Linked DNA regions of Homo sapiens: all the other regions are linked to region 3. Evidence: promoter capture Hi-C in 16 types of primary human blood cells and fetal thymus (Javierre and others, 2016). All regions are on one chromosome and are shown on one strand. Each heading gives the region's core, a stretch centred on a gene start or on the middle of the fragment in contact. The rest is flanking DNA. Distances are from core to core; before and after follow the strand shown. Region 1 overlaps POC1A (POC1 centriolar protein A). Region 2 overlaps POC1A (POC1 centriolar protein A). Region 3 holds the start of DUSP7 (dual specificity phosphatase 7).

The links. The method cuts DNA at HindIII sites, captures the fragments that hold promoters and counts their contacts. A CHiCAGO score of 5 or more calls a contact.
Region 1: a fragment that was not itself captured here is called in contact with the fragment with the promoter of DUSP7 in region 3 in 3 of 17 cell types (M0 macrophages, endothelial precursors and megakaryocytes); the score reaches 7.8 in M0 macrophages.
Region 2: a contact is called between a fragment that was not itself captured here and the fragment with the promoter of DUSP7 in region 3, in 1 of 17 cell types (endothelial precursors). The highest score is 6.7, in endothelial precursors.

What each region holds. Positions count from the first base shown.
Region 1 is chr3:52,115,734-52,118,433 of GRCh38, reverse strand. The region is part of intron 9 of POC1A (POC1 centriolar protein A); the gene reads left to right. Among named protein-coding and RNA genes, the nearest start is that of POC1A, 37 kb to the left of the region's middle. The HindIII fragment of the contact is 608 bases long and covers 1,067-1,674 here.
Region 2 is chr3:52,091,809-52,094,508 of GRCh38, reverse strand. The region is part of intron 10 of POC1A (POC1 centriolar protein A); the gene reads left to right. Among named protein-coding and RNA genes, the nearest start is that of LINC00696, 28 kb to the right of the region's middle. The HindIII fragment of the contact is 2,226 bases long and covers 170-2,395 here.
Region 3 is chr3:52,055,299-52,057,998 of GRCh38, reverse strand. It overlaps DUSP7 (dual specificity phosphatase 7), which reads left to right and starts at 1,428. Exons shown (of 3, transcript NM_001947.4): 1 at 1,428-2,149. The coding sequence starts at 1,633. RefSeq lists silencers at 368-727, 1,128-1,507, 1,708-1,767, 2,088-2,137. The HindIII fragment of the contact is 7,722 bases long and covers 719-2,700 here.

The DNA.
Region 1 (2,700 bases), core at 121-2,620, 60 kb before region 3:
CTGGTTGAAATTCACAGCTTATTTTTAGGCACATTTCATGTTGAAAAGCAAAAGCCATTTCCCAGCCATTCAGAATGAGAATAATGGGTTCCATTTTCCCTCTATTCTTGGCTGAGTTGTGCATGAGGAGGGATTTCAGGGCTTGTGGCTGGGGAACCTTCTCTACTTAGAAGGTTGCAGATGAAGGATTCCAGGCCATGCTCTGGGCTGAGGGTGGACAGAAGCTCCATGTTCAGCCTTGTGACATGCTACAAGGCTGGGGGAAGGTTGGAAGAGCCACTTGCAGGCAAATGAGCACCTCCCAGAGGGGCTTGAGGGTGGGCAAGGGATGGGAGCCCCTGGGAATTGTCTGCATTGGGTGCCCGTGCTCGTGTTTTCAAGGGTCTAGTGCTTAGCTCTGTTCCTGCCACAGCCCTGGCCCCTCTATTCTTGTCCACCCTCTTGCTGTCTGTTCTTTGGGGCCTGACCCCGAGGCATAAAGACCCCTGTATCTTGGCTGATCTTGAATTTAACACCTCCCAAACCCCTGCCACTATAGGACGGACTTCTGCTCAACCACAGAAGCATTTTTTAACCACTTTTTAAATAGCAAAAATGCATTTGCTTGATTGACTTATTTTTGCCCTCCTTCCAAATGTCTGAGGGCCCATTATGCAATGGGGAAGAAAGGTTGCGCTGGGTGGGGTGGGAGGAGAACACAGAGTTCTAGGTAATTCAGTGAAACGGGAGGAAAAAAAAACCCACTTTCTGAGTTCTAAGGGTTGGCTGCTGTCCGGTTCACACATTAACCTTGAGTTCTAGGGCTGAGTGCTTTTCTCCACTCACCTCTCAAGATCTCATTTTAAGGAGGAAAGCTCATCTGTGGTTAAGAGCCTGGGTTCTAGCTTCCAGCCAACCTGTGATTAAATCCTTTCTCTACCCTGCCTGGGGTGTGGTCCTAGGAAAGTGGCCAGACGTCTGTGAGGCACGGTTTTCTCTTCTGTCGTTTGGGGAGAGGCTGGGCCCTCCTTCGTGGGATTTCATGCGTGGTGCATCTGCCTGGCACATGACAAGTGCTCATCAAGCTTTAGCTATTTTTTTTGAGTCAGGGTCTCACTCTGTCACCCAGGCTGAACTACAGTGGCGCAATTGTGGCTCACTGCAGCTTCAACCTCCCAGGCTGAAGCGATCCTCCTGTCTCAGCCTCCTGAGTAGCTGGGACTATAGGCGTGTGCCCCCACACCCAGCTAATTTTTTTTTTTTTTTTGAGACAGAGTCTTGTGCTGTCACCCAGGCTGGAGTGCAGTGGCACAATCTTGGCTCACTATAATCTCTGCCTCCTGGATTCAAGAGATTCTTGTGCCTCAGCCTCCCGAGTAGCTGGGAATACAAGCGTGCACCTCCACGCCTGGCTAAATTTTGTATTTTTAGTAGAGATGGGATTTCACCATGTTGGCCAGGCTGGTCTCGAACTCGAGAGCTCAGGTGATCCACCTGCGTTGGCCTCCCAAAGGGCTAGGATTACAGGTGTGAGCCACCGCACCTGGCCTAATTTTTTAAATTTTTTGTAGAGAAAGGGTCTCCCTGTCTTGTCTAGGCTGGTCTCAAATTCCTGGGCTCAAGCAGTTCTCCTGCCTCTGCCTCCCAAAGCATTGGGATTATAGGTGTGAACTACCACGCCTGCCCCACCAAGCTTTAGCTACTTTAAAAAGGGTTCTTTTCCCCTCCCTGACTGAAAGCCAATCCAGGAGATTATGTGTTCAAAACTTGCTGGGGTGAGGGACAGTGGGCAATAATGGGAGCACTTATAATTTTCCACGTTGACCCCTCTCTGCAGGTCATCGTAGTGAGGGCCAGTGAGGTTTCTAGACCCTTGCAGGCATCAAAATTGTGTTTCCTGATGGCAGACCCAAGTCCCCTGTGCTCCCAGATGAGAGAGCAGATCTGTGAGTGGGTGGAAACAGACTTGTCCTTCTGCCACAGGATTCCTCAGGACAAGATGCCCAGGATCCCCAGAGCCTCAGTGCTTGAACTGTCCTCTGGAAGAGGGAGCTGGGTCAGTTGAGAACATCTGAACTGAGCCTCATCCGTGCCGAAGGATGGTCTATTTCTTCTTCCTAGTTCCTCTGATACTGAGAGTAAAGCACCAGCCACCTCCTGTGCTTGTCCTTAACCTCCCACATTTCCATTTTTGGGGCACTGCCACAGGGGTGGGCTTCACTTAGGGATTTGTGGGACCCTGATTCCTGGCCCAGAGATTCTTGGCACTAGATCTTCCCTTATGCTTTGGATCTGGGGGTCCTGGGTGCCTGTGGATTTTTAAGATCTGGGTTCTCACTCCAGGTGCCTTGCCTGAGGAATTAGAGAGTTGGAGAAACAGGGAGAGGAGACCCATTTCCACCTCATCTGCCTCATAGATTTTTTAAAATTATTTGTATACATTTCAGAAGTACAAGTGCAGTTTTGTTACCTGGTATATTGTGTAGGGGTGAAGTCTGGGCTTTTAGTGTAATCATCACCCAAATAATGTACATTATACTGGTTAAGTATTTTCTCATCCCTTGCCTCATAGATTATGTGTTAGTCTGCTCAGGATGCTATAACAAAATACCATAGACTAGGTAGATTATAAATATAGAAATTTTATTTCTCACAGTTCTGGAGGCTGGGAAGTCCAAGCAAAGCACCAACGGGTTTAGTGTCTGGTGAGGGTTTGTTTTC
Region 2 (2,700 bases), core at 33-2,532, 37 kb before region 3:
GGAGATGGGGCTTTCTCTAGCTGAGATGTTCCAGCCACAGCCAGAGCTATCTCCACCAGGGGGTTGAAAGTTTCCCTGTGCCTTTCTCTTGGCATTGGCCCAGCAGAGGCAGGCCCACAGCAGGCCCCGCTCTGGATGGTCCAGACTGACCCAGCCCTCCCCTGAAGCTTAGTGCCAGGCGGCCACCACCATCCATCTTCCCAAGCGGCTTGTTCAGCTGGGCTTCCTACTTGGTCTGTGGATATTGGTCTCGGGTGCCACCCCATCAGCAAGCACTCCTTGCCATCTGCCCAGTCCTGAAGAGCCTTTGTGTTCTGGAGGGGTAGGATGCCCAGCCACCCCAACACTGATTCCTACTACAAAGTCATCCATGTGAATTGTGCTGTTCTCCTCTGTTGCCTCCACCATCCCTTCCCTCCCCCACAGGGAAGTCTACTTCAGAGTGGCCTTTGAGAGGGAAGCTGCCTTCTGGGTCCTTCAGGCCTCCATCCTGCAGAACATCCTTCTAGGGGAGAGCCATGGGGATGCAGCGGGCCGTAGCCAGGGATGTTTTCTGAGTGAGTCACAGAGTCTCCAGCCCCTGGGTAGGACACCCTATTTCAGAGGCTCACAGTCTTCAAAGCCTGCCTTCCTGTTCAACAGGCTGGTATGGCCCCATGTGGCGAGGTCACCTCTGTGGATGTTTGTGGCCTGTCTGGCACCAGTCTGAGGGTCAGGGACCCAATCTCAGTCCTCCCCAGGGTGACCCCTTCAGCGGCTCCTCTGTGTAAAGGAAAGGCCTGGAAGCCAGGAAGCTGAGTGAGCCAATGGAGAGGAGTGGCTCAGGTTTTGTCTGGCTTCCCCATTGCCTAGCTCAGTGACCTTGGGCAAGTCACTTTGAGTCTGTGTGCCTTACTTTCCAAATCTGGAACACAGAGCTGATAATAATACCCACTTCATAGGCCTCTTGGGAAGCTCCTTGAATAGTACCTGACAACGCCGTGCACTGCTGATGTGTTGGGTGCTGCTCCTGTTGCTGCCATTGTCGTTATCCAAGGCTTGGGGGCCAGGGGGATCTGCATGACAGCACCAGAAATAGCTCTCCCAATTTTCCACTGCCTCATGAAGCTAGACCCTTCCCTACCCAGGAGAGCCATTCCTTGGCCCTCAGAGCAGAGGTGGCAGGTTCCTTCCATGCACACACATTCACTGAGCCCACTCTGTGTGGTGGGCCCTGTGTGAGACCCAGTCCCACCTTCAGGAAGAACTCAGGACTGAATCTGCCAAGGTCAGAGCCAGGCCTCCCCAGAGGAGCTGGCAACTGGAATAACTGGAAACAAGTGGGAGTCCAGACACCGGGTCAAGGCCATGGGTCCTCTGGTGTGGGGTAACAGAAGCAGCAGCCCAGGAGTTCACCCTCACCTGACGGGACACTAGGCAAAGTCGAGGCCTGACCCATGCTGAGGGTCTGGGGTAGAGTGGAGATGGGGACACAGAGAAGTTGAGACGCGAGCAAGGGCAGTGCTATCATGGCTCCATCCCAGGGGCGATGAGACAAACAGCACTTTGGCTGGCCCCTGCAAGGCTCCTGGTCTCCGGAGCAAGCCAGCAAGTGGGGCAGCTTCCCCCAGCCTTCCCAGGCCAAGAGGCCTTTCAGATGAAGAGGAAACCAAACTGCCCTTGGGACTTGCACAGCATCAGAAACCCTTTAACTCCAGAAATGGGGTTGGTGTTTTACTTTTTTATGAAAGCCTTTTTTATAAAATCCATACATTATTTTTCAAAAGTGTATTTATATGGGGAAAATAGACTTTGGGGTGACCTTGTGAGCCGAGCAGGTGCAGTCTTCAGGCCTCCCCACGTAGTTGTTTTAGATGAAAAGTCCTCAGAGTGTGGGGATCACATACTCATCATAGTTTTCATCCTCCTGGTTTTTATCTGAGGCCTGCCACTTTCCAAGGACTTCCCTTTGTGGACCTCACTTTATCCTCCCACCTGGCACATGGCAGCAACATCATGCCAGGTGCAGATAATGTGTTAATAATGGCTTGTTGTGCCTGGACCAGCCTCGGGGTCCAGCCAGCCTGGGGCTTCTCCAGGAGGCCAGGTGATCCTGATCTCAACCACTGTGGGCCAGAGCATCCCTAGCTTCCCTTGCCAAACAGTTTTGGTGCAGTTAGGGATGGCTTCATCAAGAAATTCTGCAAACCAAACTTGACCTCCCTGAAAGGTAAGGCCAGAAGCTCTTGCCCAGGGCTCTGTGATCAGAGAGCCCAGCAGGCCGAGTCCCTTAGGTCACCAGCCAAAGAGCAGACACATCCTTGCCCTGGCCTGCCCCTGTGTGGGGATGACCCCTCCTTGCCCCAGTAAACACTGAGCTTGCTGTTTGGGGCATCACTGGTTTCTTCGCTAAGCTTCTCTGGGCCCTGATCCCAGCTGATGCCATGCTTTGAGCAGCTGGGGTTTGTTCAGCTTTACACATCCCCACCAGCTGTGGGGAGCAACTGTTCCTCCTTGAGTTTCAGGGCTGCTCTGTTCACCCAGTGAGCCACCTGCCTGTCAGCCTGGGCACACCTCCACCATTCATCACCTGGGTGACCTTGGGCAGGTGACATCAATCCCAGAGCCTCAGTCTCCTCCCTTGTAAAATGGGGAGAGATGCCTCATTGGGTCCTCTGAGCTCTGCTGTGCGGCTCTTGGTTAACTGAGTGTGCTAGACTG
Region 3 (2,700 bases), core at 179-2,678:
GAGAGACCCCTGCTCCTTTGGGATACAGCCCTGTGGCCCAGGATGAAACTCTTCCGAAAGACTATCCCTCGCTTGAAAGACAGGCGGGGACTGCTCCTGAGTCACCCCTTTTCGTGCCTTCTGGTCAGAGGTTAGCGGAAAGCTCAAATCCTCGGGGTTCCAGAGGCCGTCCCTCAAGCACCACCGCTCCCCCAGTCAGGGATGGGGGCAAGGTGTCTCAGAGCCGACCAGCCTCGGGCGGAGTCGGGGGGTTAAGCCCCAAGGAGGGGCACCCCGCCAGGCAAAAGAATGGACCAGATAGACGGCAGGGTCCAGCCTCAAGCTGCCACCCTGGCTCCGTAGGGAAAGCACTGCAGGTCCTACGCAAGCGCGCCGCCTGCGTCTAGCCGCTTTGTTCTAGCGCTACCTGCGGGTCCATTCACCTCCGCTGCCCCGCCTGCCTGCAAATCGACACACAGGGCGGGCGGAGGCCCCGCCCACTTCCCCGCCCTGGGTGGAAACCGCGGCGGGCCCCGCCTCCCTCCGCCACCGCCTCTTTCGGCCAGGATTGGCCATCTGCATGGCAGGCGCCCGCCTACCGCGGAAGTTGATTGGTCCGTTGAGAGGGAGGCAGGGGAAGGAAAGCTGATTATAAAGGAGCATTCCCCTCCCACCGGCCCCGTGGAAAAAGTCACGTGGCGCTTCACTGGGCGCCTGTCACCACCCCGCTTGTAAAGCTTTCTTAAAGGGCTCGCGATCCCTTCCCAAAGCTGGTCCTTTCTAGGATTTCTCCACACCTGCCCACGGAAGGTGGCACGGCCCTGAGTCTTCCTACCCCGCCAGTTGCCCAGGTCCTGATTTCCCATCAGGCCTGCTGGCGTGAGACGCTCTCCCTCAGGTCTGGAGCCTGTGACCGTCAGGGGAACGATGAGGTCCTCTGAAACGGTGACCGCCTAGCACAGTGCCTGGCACGTAGTAGGCGTTCAGTTCTCATTTGTTGAATGAACTCGATGACAGAAAAAATGAATGGGATGACAGGCGGGAGGAGGAGAGGTTGCTCAGCTTGACCATCCCCCCCACCACGCCCCGTCCCAGGAAAACTATGCTGTTGTGAATGTGGGGTGGGGGTGCCAGGCATAGGACGCCCCCAGGGCCTCTCTTCCCGCAGTGTCCAGAAGAGCTTGGGAGCACGCGCAGAGTGAACCCATGAGGGCGTCTAGGCCGGGGTCCCTAGGCGGATCGTAGTCAGCTCCGAGCTAGTCCAGGGGGCAACGGTGCGGAGGCGGTGGGGGAGGGCCCCGCCGCTGGTCTCCCGGGCTCGGGTCGCGAGCGCGCCCGCATACCCCGTGGGGAGGGGCGGTGGAGGCGCTGCGCCTTTAAGCCCGGGCGCCGGCCCCCGCGGCCCCGCCCCCCGGAGAACGCCTCGGCGCGCGGCCGCCGGAGCCGCCGTTTAATTGGGGCTGTCAGGCCGCGGTGCGCGCGGAGGGCCGGGCGGGCGGGCGGGACGGAGGCCGGGAGGCCGGGAGGCCGGGGCGGCGGGCGCGCAGCTCGGCGGGAGGCGGGCGCCCGGAGACGCGGCTGGGGCCCGCGCGGCCGGGGCGCCGTCCCAGGGCAGGGCTGCCCGGCCCCGGCCCCGGGCCGCCCGCGCTCCCCATGAAAAACCAGCTCCGCGGCCCCCCAGCGCGGGCGCACATGTCGACTTCGGGGGCGGCGGCGGCTGGGGGCACCCGGGCGGGGTCCGAGCCCGGTGCGGGGTCGGGGTCCGGCGCAGGCACCGGGGCGGGCGCGGCGACGGGGGCAGGGGCCATGCCCTGCAAGAGCGCCGAGTGGCTGCAGGAGGAGCTGGAGGCGCGCGGCGGCGCGTCCTTGCTGCTGCTCGACTGCCGGCCGCACGAGCTCTTCGAGTCGTCGCACATCGAGACGGCCATCAACCTGGCCATCCCGGGCCTCATGTTGCGCCGCCTGCGCAAGGGCAACCTGCCCATCCGCTCCATCATCCCCAACCACGCCGACAAGGAGCGCTTCGCCACGCGCTGCAAGGCGGCCACCGTGCTGCTCTACGACGAGGCCACGGCCGAGTGGCAGCCCGAGCCCGGCGCTCCCGCCTCCGTGCTCGGCCTGCTCCTACAGAAGCTGCGCGACGACGGCTGCCAGGCCTACTACCTCCAAGGTGAGGGCGGCACCGAGACGCCTTACGGGATCGGGGCCCCCCCGCGACTCCCTGACGCCCCCCTTGGAGGCGCTTTCCTCTCCACGCGCTCGGCCTGCCCCTCTGGGCGCCACGTCGTCCCCGGCCCGCATCCGCCCTCCTGGAGCCGGGTCCCCACTGTGTGGTTTGGCAGGCGCGGGGCTCCCTCTGCGCCCCCTTTCTCGGCACGATTCGAGTGGGTGGAACAAACTTTCCCCTGCCTGGGGTTTCCTTTTTTTTCCTGTTGATGGGGCGACAGTAGTGCCTGGGCTCCAGTGGAGCCCCTCAGAGGTGGAAGGCGCCGCCTCCCAGAACCCTAAAAGCGGCAGGGCGCCCAAGTCCAGCCTAGAATTCGTGTTTCTGGAAGGCCAGGATCAGGAAGGGCACCTTTCATAGCACCATCCTCACCTCCAGCGCATGGAGACCATTTGGGTTGGGGTCTCCTGGATCCGGGAATTGCTTCTTCCACCGGAGAATTGCCGCCTCTAGGAGGCGCTTGGGGCAGGGTATGGGCAGGCTCCATTGCCCTGGCC